2 separate regions of the Homo sapiens genome follow, and region 2 is linked to region 1. The links are contacts of gene promoters, found by promoter capture Hi-C in blood cells and fetal thymus (Javierre and others, 2016). All regions are on one chromosome and are shown on one strand. The core of a region is centred on a gene start or on the middle of the fragment in contact, and the rest is flanking DNA. Distances in the headings are between cores, read along the strand shown. Region 1 holds the start of EIF4E (eukaryotic translation initiation factor 4E). Region 2 overlaps BMPR1B (bone morphogenetic protein receptor type 1B).

Region 1 (3,725 bases), core at 856-3,355:
CGGTCAACAGAATTATTTTGGATAGTCTAAGTAACAGTAGATAGTCTCTGTAAGTAGAAATCCACTTATCCGTTTATTATCATTTTTTTTTTTTTTTTGGAAATGGAGTCTCACTGTGTCGCCCAGACTGGAGTGCAGTGGCGGGATCTTGGCTCACTGCAACCTCCACCTCCCAGGTTCAAGTGATTCTCCTGCCTCAGCCTCCTGAGTAGCTGAGACTACAGGCAGGTGCCACTATGCCTGGCTAATTTTTGTATTTTTAGTAGAGACAGGGTTTCACCATGTTGGTCAGGCTGGTCTCGAACTCCTGACCTCAGGTGATCCGCCCGCCTTGGCCTCCCAAAGGGCTGTGATTACAGGCGTGGGCCACTGCGCCTGGCCTGTTAATTCTATCTACTTTAAAACCTAGTAGAGCTAAGCCCACTAGACAAAAGCTTTCATTAATCACTTCTGATATTCAGGTAAACCAAAACATATGAACAGGCAATGGCTTTGAGTTCTCATACAGCCTCAATTATGTGTTAGTCAACTCAAGCATCCATTATGTACTCAATAATAGGTATGACACAGCTCTGGACCTCATTAACACTATAAGCAGACAGGCACAGGCAGCCTGCATACACTCCTTTTCCTGGTGTCAACATTATTTAAAAGCATGGGAAATAGTAATGAGACAGTGTCTTCTTCATTAGAACCTTAGGAGTCTACTAGATTTCTTCATCTCTATTTGTTGTTATTAGTAGCCAAACTGTGCAAAAAACACGGTCTTGAGAAATGACAGCACAGTATCTTAGAGGGAAAGGAAATGTAGGATGCCAGTGTGGGGACAAATTTCTGATTGCCAGTGATTGTTGTGAGCATAACAATAATTTCATGAACATTAAAGCCTCTATTGAGGGCAGCTGCAGTTGTAAAGGAAAAAAAATGGTCCTGAACATTTAAAACTACACTGGTGTACATCATAATCAAACAAAGTAAACAGAAAAAAATTTAAACTTTGCTAAAAAAAAAAAGCAGAAGCACTTGATCTTTAGGAAGGCACGCAGTTGCTTATTATGAATCATTTCTAGAGTCCGATGCATTTTCAAAGCCGGTTACAGTCATTACGAAGCACACCCTTGTGAGGTAAGTGTATCATCACCTTTGGTTCATAAATAAAAAAGCTGAGACGCCGAGCGATTAAGTCACTCGCCTAAGGAGAATGAGTCAACGTCAAGAGTCATAGTTGACCCGGCCTAAAGACTCCAGACCATCAGTCCAGGGCTTAGTCAGCGGGGCCCGGAGTGGCTTCCCTGGCTGGCATCTGGACTTAGGCTATTTCCGTGCACGTAAAAGCGGAATATTGGAACGGTTGCACAGAACTTCCAAATAATTTTTACCGCCACGCAAGATTTAGCCCTGAGGTCTTAATCTCAGGATTTGGGACAGTAAAAGCTGTCGTCCCTCCCCCTCGTCCAGCCGGTGGCAAGCGGGTACTGCGGGCGGTTCCGTCCGTCCCCTTTCGCAGAAATGGCAACGAATGACCACCAGCATTAGCTGAGCCAGGGGACGTGGGAGGGTTGATTGCCTAAACGACTCTGCATCGCCGCCTCTTTTTGAAACTAAGAGAAAATGGTGGGAGATCAAAAGAAAACTAAATAAACACACAGGCAACTTGTCCTGGGACCTCAACTAAGCAAATGAAGCCTTATTGTGTGTGCTGAGCCTGCAGTTCCCAACCTTCCGGGGAAGATGGGAGGACAGGGCGACAAAGGGCACAGTAGGCTTGCCTGGCAGTAAGTGTGACCGCAGCTATCCAGGCGGAAGAGCAGAGGACTGAAACCACCCTCCAGCAAGCGAGTGTCCGCCGCGTTGAGAACCGCGCACCCTACCCATCGGCCACGTGACCAGTCCTTTTTAAAAAAAATTTCTTTACCTTAAAAAAAAAAAAAAAAAAAAGGTGGGGGAGAGACTCCACTTCCCAGAAGCCTCTCGTTACTCACGCAGCCGCAGTCTTGCGCAGGTGCCGCCAGGGCCAAACGGACATATCCGTCACGTGGCCAGAAGCTGGCCAATCCGGTTTGAATCTCATTTTTTTCCTCTTACCCCCCCTTCTGGAGCGGTTGTGCGATCAGATCGATCTAAGATGGCGACTGTCGAACCGGTGAGTATTGCCTTTGGCCCCCACCCCCACGGGTCCCCGCGCTCCGTCTTCCTTCTGACTGGGGGACTCCGCGGGACGGCGTTCCCGGCGCGCACTGTACCCCTTGCCGCCCCTTCCCCTTCATGTTGGACCTGACCTCCCGCGGACAAGTGGGGACGTCCCGGAGGATGGCCGAGGCGGCGTGTAGCGCACACTTTCTGGTGGGGGCCCGAGAACTGGGGGAGCGGTGTGGGGGAGGGGCGGCGTGGCGCCTCCTGCGGAACCGCGAGGTGTCTACAGGGTGGAGGGTAGCTGGGGTTCTGGGCTGGGTATGCGAGGATGGTGTCTTCATGATAGGAAGGCGCAGGGCCGGCTCCCAGCGAGTACTGGGATCCGCAGGCAGGGTGGGCGGCGAGCCGGCCTGGAGTGAGATGGAGGAGGGAGCCCTGGAGCAGCCTTTCCCTCCCTGCAGAACCCCAGCTCCGGGGCTCGGGTGCGGGGCGCGCGCACGTCTTCCTTAGACCGGTGGACTGGGGAGCTGGTGGGCGAGTGTTGCCGGAGGGTGGGTTAGGCGGGAGTGGTGCCGCGGCACGCGCGGAGGAGCTTCGACCTCGCTTAGGGGAGTTGAGAGGGGCGAGCGTCTGTTAATCCAGCGCGCCGGAGAGTTGCCGGTGTTTGCGCCAGGGGAAGCGAGAAAGGTCTGGGGTGGGAAGGAACACTCGTGTGTCACGGTGAAGCTCTCCAAGTAGAATGAGGGATGGTGGTGGTGAGAAGGGGTATCACATTGTCCTCGCCCCTCCATGCTTGGGACTGGGCTGTCATGGAGGAGGGAAGGGGGAGGAGCGAGGCCTACAGATCGCTGTAGCCGGTCGGCTTGCCGGCCGGACCTGCTGCATTTCACACGCGCCCGTCTTCCATTCATTCATCCTTTCCGCGTAGTGCGCACGCCTCAGAGAATGCGAATGGGTCTCAATCCCTCTGTTCTTCCGAGTCTTTATCTCCTGGAAGATTTCTGAGACGCAGTTTATTGGAAATAGAAACTTTTAAATTTACTTTTCCATTTGACTTTTTTTTTCTCTTTATCTATGCTACAGACTTTCATTTCAATTTAGGCACCATTTTAAACTTAACTGAAGCAAGCTGGTCCCAGGGTAGGTTTGTAGTTAATCTTTAAGCAGAGGGTATATTTTTCATAATTTGGGTTTGCCAGGACTGGCTCACTGAAACTTCTGGGCCCTGTTGCCTTTTTAGAAACGACACAGCTAAGTGAAGATATCTTGTGTGCATAATGGGGTTTATTAGCAATCAGAAAACCTTTCACACTCTGGAACCAGCTCTAGACCTTGGTTGCCAGATACTTTTGTGTATCTTTTCATGGTAGCTTGTGGTTTTGCTAATGGTTTACCAGTTTGCTTTGACTTTTAAAGACTTTTTTTTTTTTTTTTTTTTTTTTTTTTTTTTGAGATGGAGTCTTGCTTTGTCGCCCAGGCTGGAGTGCAGTGGCGTGATCTCGGCTCACTGCAACCTCCGCCTCCGGGTTCAAGCGATTCTCCTGCTTCAGCCTCTTGAGTAGCTGGGATTACAGGTGCGCACAACCGTGCCT
Region 2 (3,517 bases), core at 72-2,571, 3.8 Mb after region 1:
AAAGAAAACCACAGAAAGGAAATGTATATGAATAAAGTTGAGCAGGATGTGTACAACTTTAAACTGTATTGTATTCATGTTGCTAAACAATATTGGCCTTCTCGATGATTTTATTCATGTTGCTCCAAAGTTAAAACCCTGTAGAACTAAGTAGGTGAAGAGATATTTTGTATAAGTGCCACAGAAGAGAAAATATAATAAATTAAATAGTGAATTGAGCATCACTAGAATAAAATAAAATGAGTAGGCATTCCTAAGATGTGAAATGATCACCTAAGATATACATGCTCCAACCATATTGATTTTAGAACAAAACACAGCAGCCCATAACAGTTTGTGGCCTCTACTAACTGTCCTCTGCTGTCCCATCTAGAGGTTATGTTTCTCTATTTTTAAAATAAAATGTAGTTAAATTAGCCTGACGGATGTTTCCTCTCTATCCCTTATCTCAGACACATACAAAACAGACAGACAATAACAAAAAGACATCATCTTTATCTGTACAAAATAAGGTATGCACACTTTTTTCTTTGTGCTTCTGAGATTGGCTCCTTTGCATATATAAGATACAAGCCATCTGCACGATCACCCTCATTTCCTATCTTTGTTGACATGTTCCTCTTACAACACAAGAGCAAATTACCTCTATTTGAAAGCACCCTGTCTTCAACACAGCTCATGACAATTTTATTTAATATTGATCCTTTGAATGAGAGATCAAAAGCATGCACAGGTCAATCCTCTGCACATTAAAAAAAAAAAAAAAAAAAAAAAAAAAAAAAAGCTTTCTTTGTGTTTAATGAAAAGGGTTTTACCATGAAAGAGATGCCTAACTCAATCAGAAACAGAAGTGGATCTGAAGAACACCTATCAACAATTACTTCTATTAGAGTCACATAAACCTTCATTTGTTCCATATTGCCTGAAGCTGCAAAAGGCCACCTGCAGGAATTCCAAATGTGGTCCTAGACAGGCGGTGTTTGTACCCAGTGCATTCACATTACCATAGCGGCCCCAAATGCAGGGATGGCCAAAGTGGTCTGAGGAGGCCAAGACGGGGTGGGGAGTATGTTTAAGATGAGTTCCGTTCTATGTCCTCCAACTTAGACTGTCTTTTGGTTCACAGAGTGCAACAATATTTTACCAATGGAAAAACAAGTATTTTAATTTACCTTCCAGCAGAGTTCCTGGGAAGAATTTTGTTGTTATTATTTAAACTATAATACTATAACCCTTAAACCATCCACATTATCTGTTTTATTTTGGCAAAATGAAAGCATCTTAAAAAAAAAAAAAGGCAATCACAAAATACAGGGCTTTCTTAGAAAGCAACATGCATCATATCTTGAACAAGTTACCCAAGCGGTTTCTCCGTCCTACAAACAGACATGGATCAATCTCTCCTTCTGGGAGCTTCTCTGTCTTTGCCCAGGTCGCTCCCTGAGAGGTGAGGTCTGAACCCACTGGGAAGCAGGACGATGTTCAAGGCTTGTACTGTGGATGCTTATTTGATGTCTTTTGCTCTGCCCACAAACAGAAGAGTACCTGTTGGCTTTCTGCAGAGATGCTTACTTTTCCTCTCCTATCAGAGTTTAATGTCCTGGGACTCTGACATTTTGGCAAGTGTTTTCTTAACCCGCAGGGCTGTCAGCCTTGATGCAGGATTGTGAGCCCAGCATTCTGTCATGAGTTTTCCCATCTGCCTTAGACACTGAGGAAGAGAAATGTTAGAAAAATGTATCATCTGCAAGGCTGGCACCTGTTACAATGTAGCTTTTTAGTTTTAGGTTCATTAAGTTTGAATATATTTTTAAAAGGTACCCTTAAAACCATGTAGAAGTAAAATTCTGTAAGCTTTTTTCATGCAAAATTATATATGACTAAAACAGATGTTCATGTCTTCTTTGTGATAGAAACAAGCAGGTGGTTCTGCTGATTGTAGAAAGGTGTCTTTGAAATTAGTGTTAAGCAAACATAAAAATACCCAGGGAGTCTGTATTCCACTCAATACTCCCAGATTGTTTATAACACTTGATAAGTTTTAATCTTTTATCTAATTCCATACTATGCAAACAAACACAGTTATTCCTAAATCATAGCTGTCTGCTGCAGTAATAGCATCACACTGCACCATTTAACAAGATTAATGACCTGTGCACAGCATCACTAAAACTTTCTCCTGTGGTACATCAATTATTGGTCTTCCTATTGAAAAGTACAATTTCACTTCATAAGAAATCCTCAGTGAAGAGATATCAAGTAACACCAAAAGCCCACAATAACAGAGCTCCAGCATCTCATAAAGCTTTCTGCACAGCTTGCTGGAAAACGTATATATTATTTAGCATTTTAGTAACCAGACACAAAACCAATGAGCCAAAGGTGTTTTTGTTTTTGTTGTTGTTTGTTTATTTGTTTTAAGACAGGGTCTCGGTCTGTCGAGTGCAGTGTCATGATCCTGGCTCATTGCAACCTCCGCCTTCCGGGTTCAAGCAATTCTCGTGCATCAATCTCCCGAGTAGGTGGGAATACAGGTGTGCACCAACACACTAGGCTATTGTTTGTATTTTTTAATAGAGATGGGTTTTCACTATATTGGCCAGGCTGGTCTCGAACTTCTGGACTCAAGTGATCCACCCGCCTCGGCCTGCCAAAGTGCCGGGATTACAGATGTGAGCCACAGTGCCCGGCCCAGAGATTATATTTAAATGGCTTTTACACTTCAGAAATAGTGCTCTGTCCCCCCTTTGCAGTGCTTTGGTACGTTTGATAAGAGCCTGTTTTTTTTTCCAGTGGTGCTTCAAACTCATCTTGAACATTCCAGTCTGCCAGAGAACTCTAGAACATGGTGAGTTTGAAGGCTGCGAGGGTGGAAGGAGAGGAATGTGGAACAGGAGGAGGAGTCAGGAAAGGCAAGACTCATTTCTTCCTTACTAGCCGCTGCTTTCCAGACCTATGTAGGTTTCACCACTACAGCCTTAGAGCCAAGCTGAAGGTGGATTTGTTCAAATCACATCTCGTCATCCTTATTAACAAAGACACCCAGCACAGTCAGGCATCTTAACTAGGTCAACCTGTATCACTTTAACATGCCTACTTTTTTTCTCTAATCAAAATGGGAGAATGCTGTACATGGGTTTGTCACAGAGAAAAATTATGATGCTTTAAAAACACACACAGAGAAATAATAGGTTTTATGCAAATGTCAAGACATTATAAATAAAGAAAATAATGTTATTTGTTATGCAGGCTAAACACTGACCAACTCACTCAATATATTCTGGAAGTGGCAAAATAAAATTGGAAAAGTAGAACAAGTAATTTAACATACTACACTTATCTTCATATAAATTACTGCAATGAGGCGCCATCACCATCACCATCAAAAAAAGAAGAATTCCTACAATCAATATGTGGAATTTTAGCTAAAAAAGAAAAGTCTATTTAGAAGTCTGTCACAGCCACATGGTTACCTCAAGCCTTACCTCATCACTGCTCCACCGGTTTGGGAATGAGG

Evidence for each region. Contacts are between HindIII fragments. The CHiCAGO score rates a contact against its expected background, and 5 or more counts as called.
Region 2: a contact is called between a fragment that was not itself captured here and the fragment with the promoter of EIF4E in region 1, in 1 of 17 cell types (fetal thymus). The highest score is 6.9, in fetal thymus.

The regions. Positions count from the first base shown.
Region 1 is chr4:98,927,513-98,931,237 of GRCh38, reverse strand. It overlaps EIF4E (eukaryotic translation initiation factor 4E), which reads left to right and starts at 2,105. Exons shown (of 7, transcript NM_001968.5): 1 at 2,105-2,143. The coding sequence starts at 2,126. RefSeq lists an enhancer at 512-1,711. The HindIII fragment of the contact is 5,241 bases long and covers 437-3,725 here.
Region 2 is chr4:95,152,742-95,156,258 of GRCh38, reverse strand. It overlaps BMPR1B (bone morphogenetic protein receptor type 1B), which reads right to left. Exons shown (of 13, transcript NM_001203.3): 12 at 3,486-3,517; 13 at 1-1,711. The coding sequence ends at 1,586. Among named protein-coding and RNA genes, the nearest start is that of UNC5C, 390 kb to the left of the region's middle. The HindIII fragment of the contact is 1,070 bases long and covers 787-1,856 here.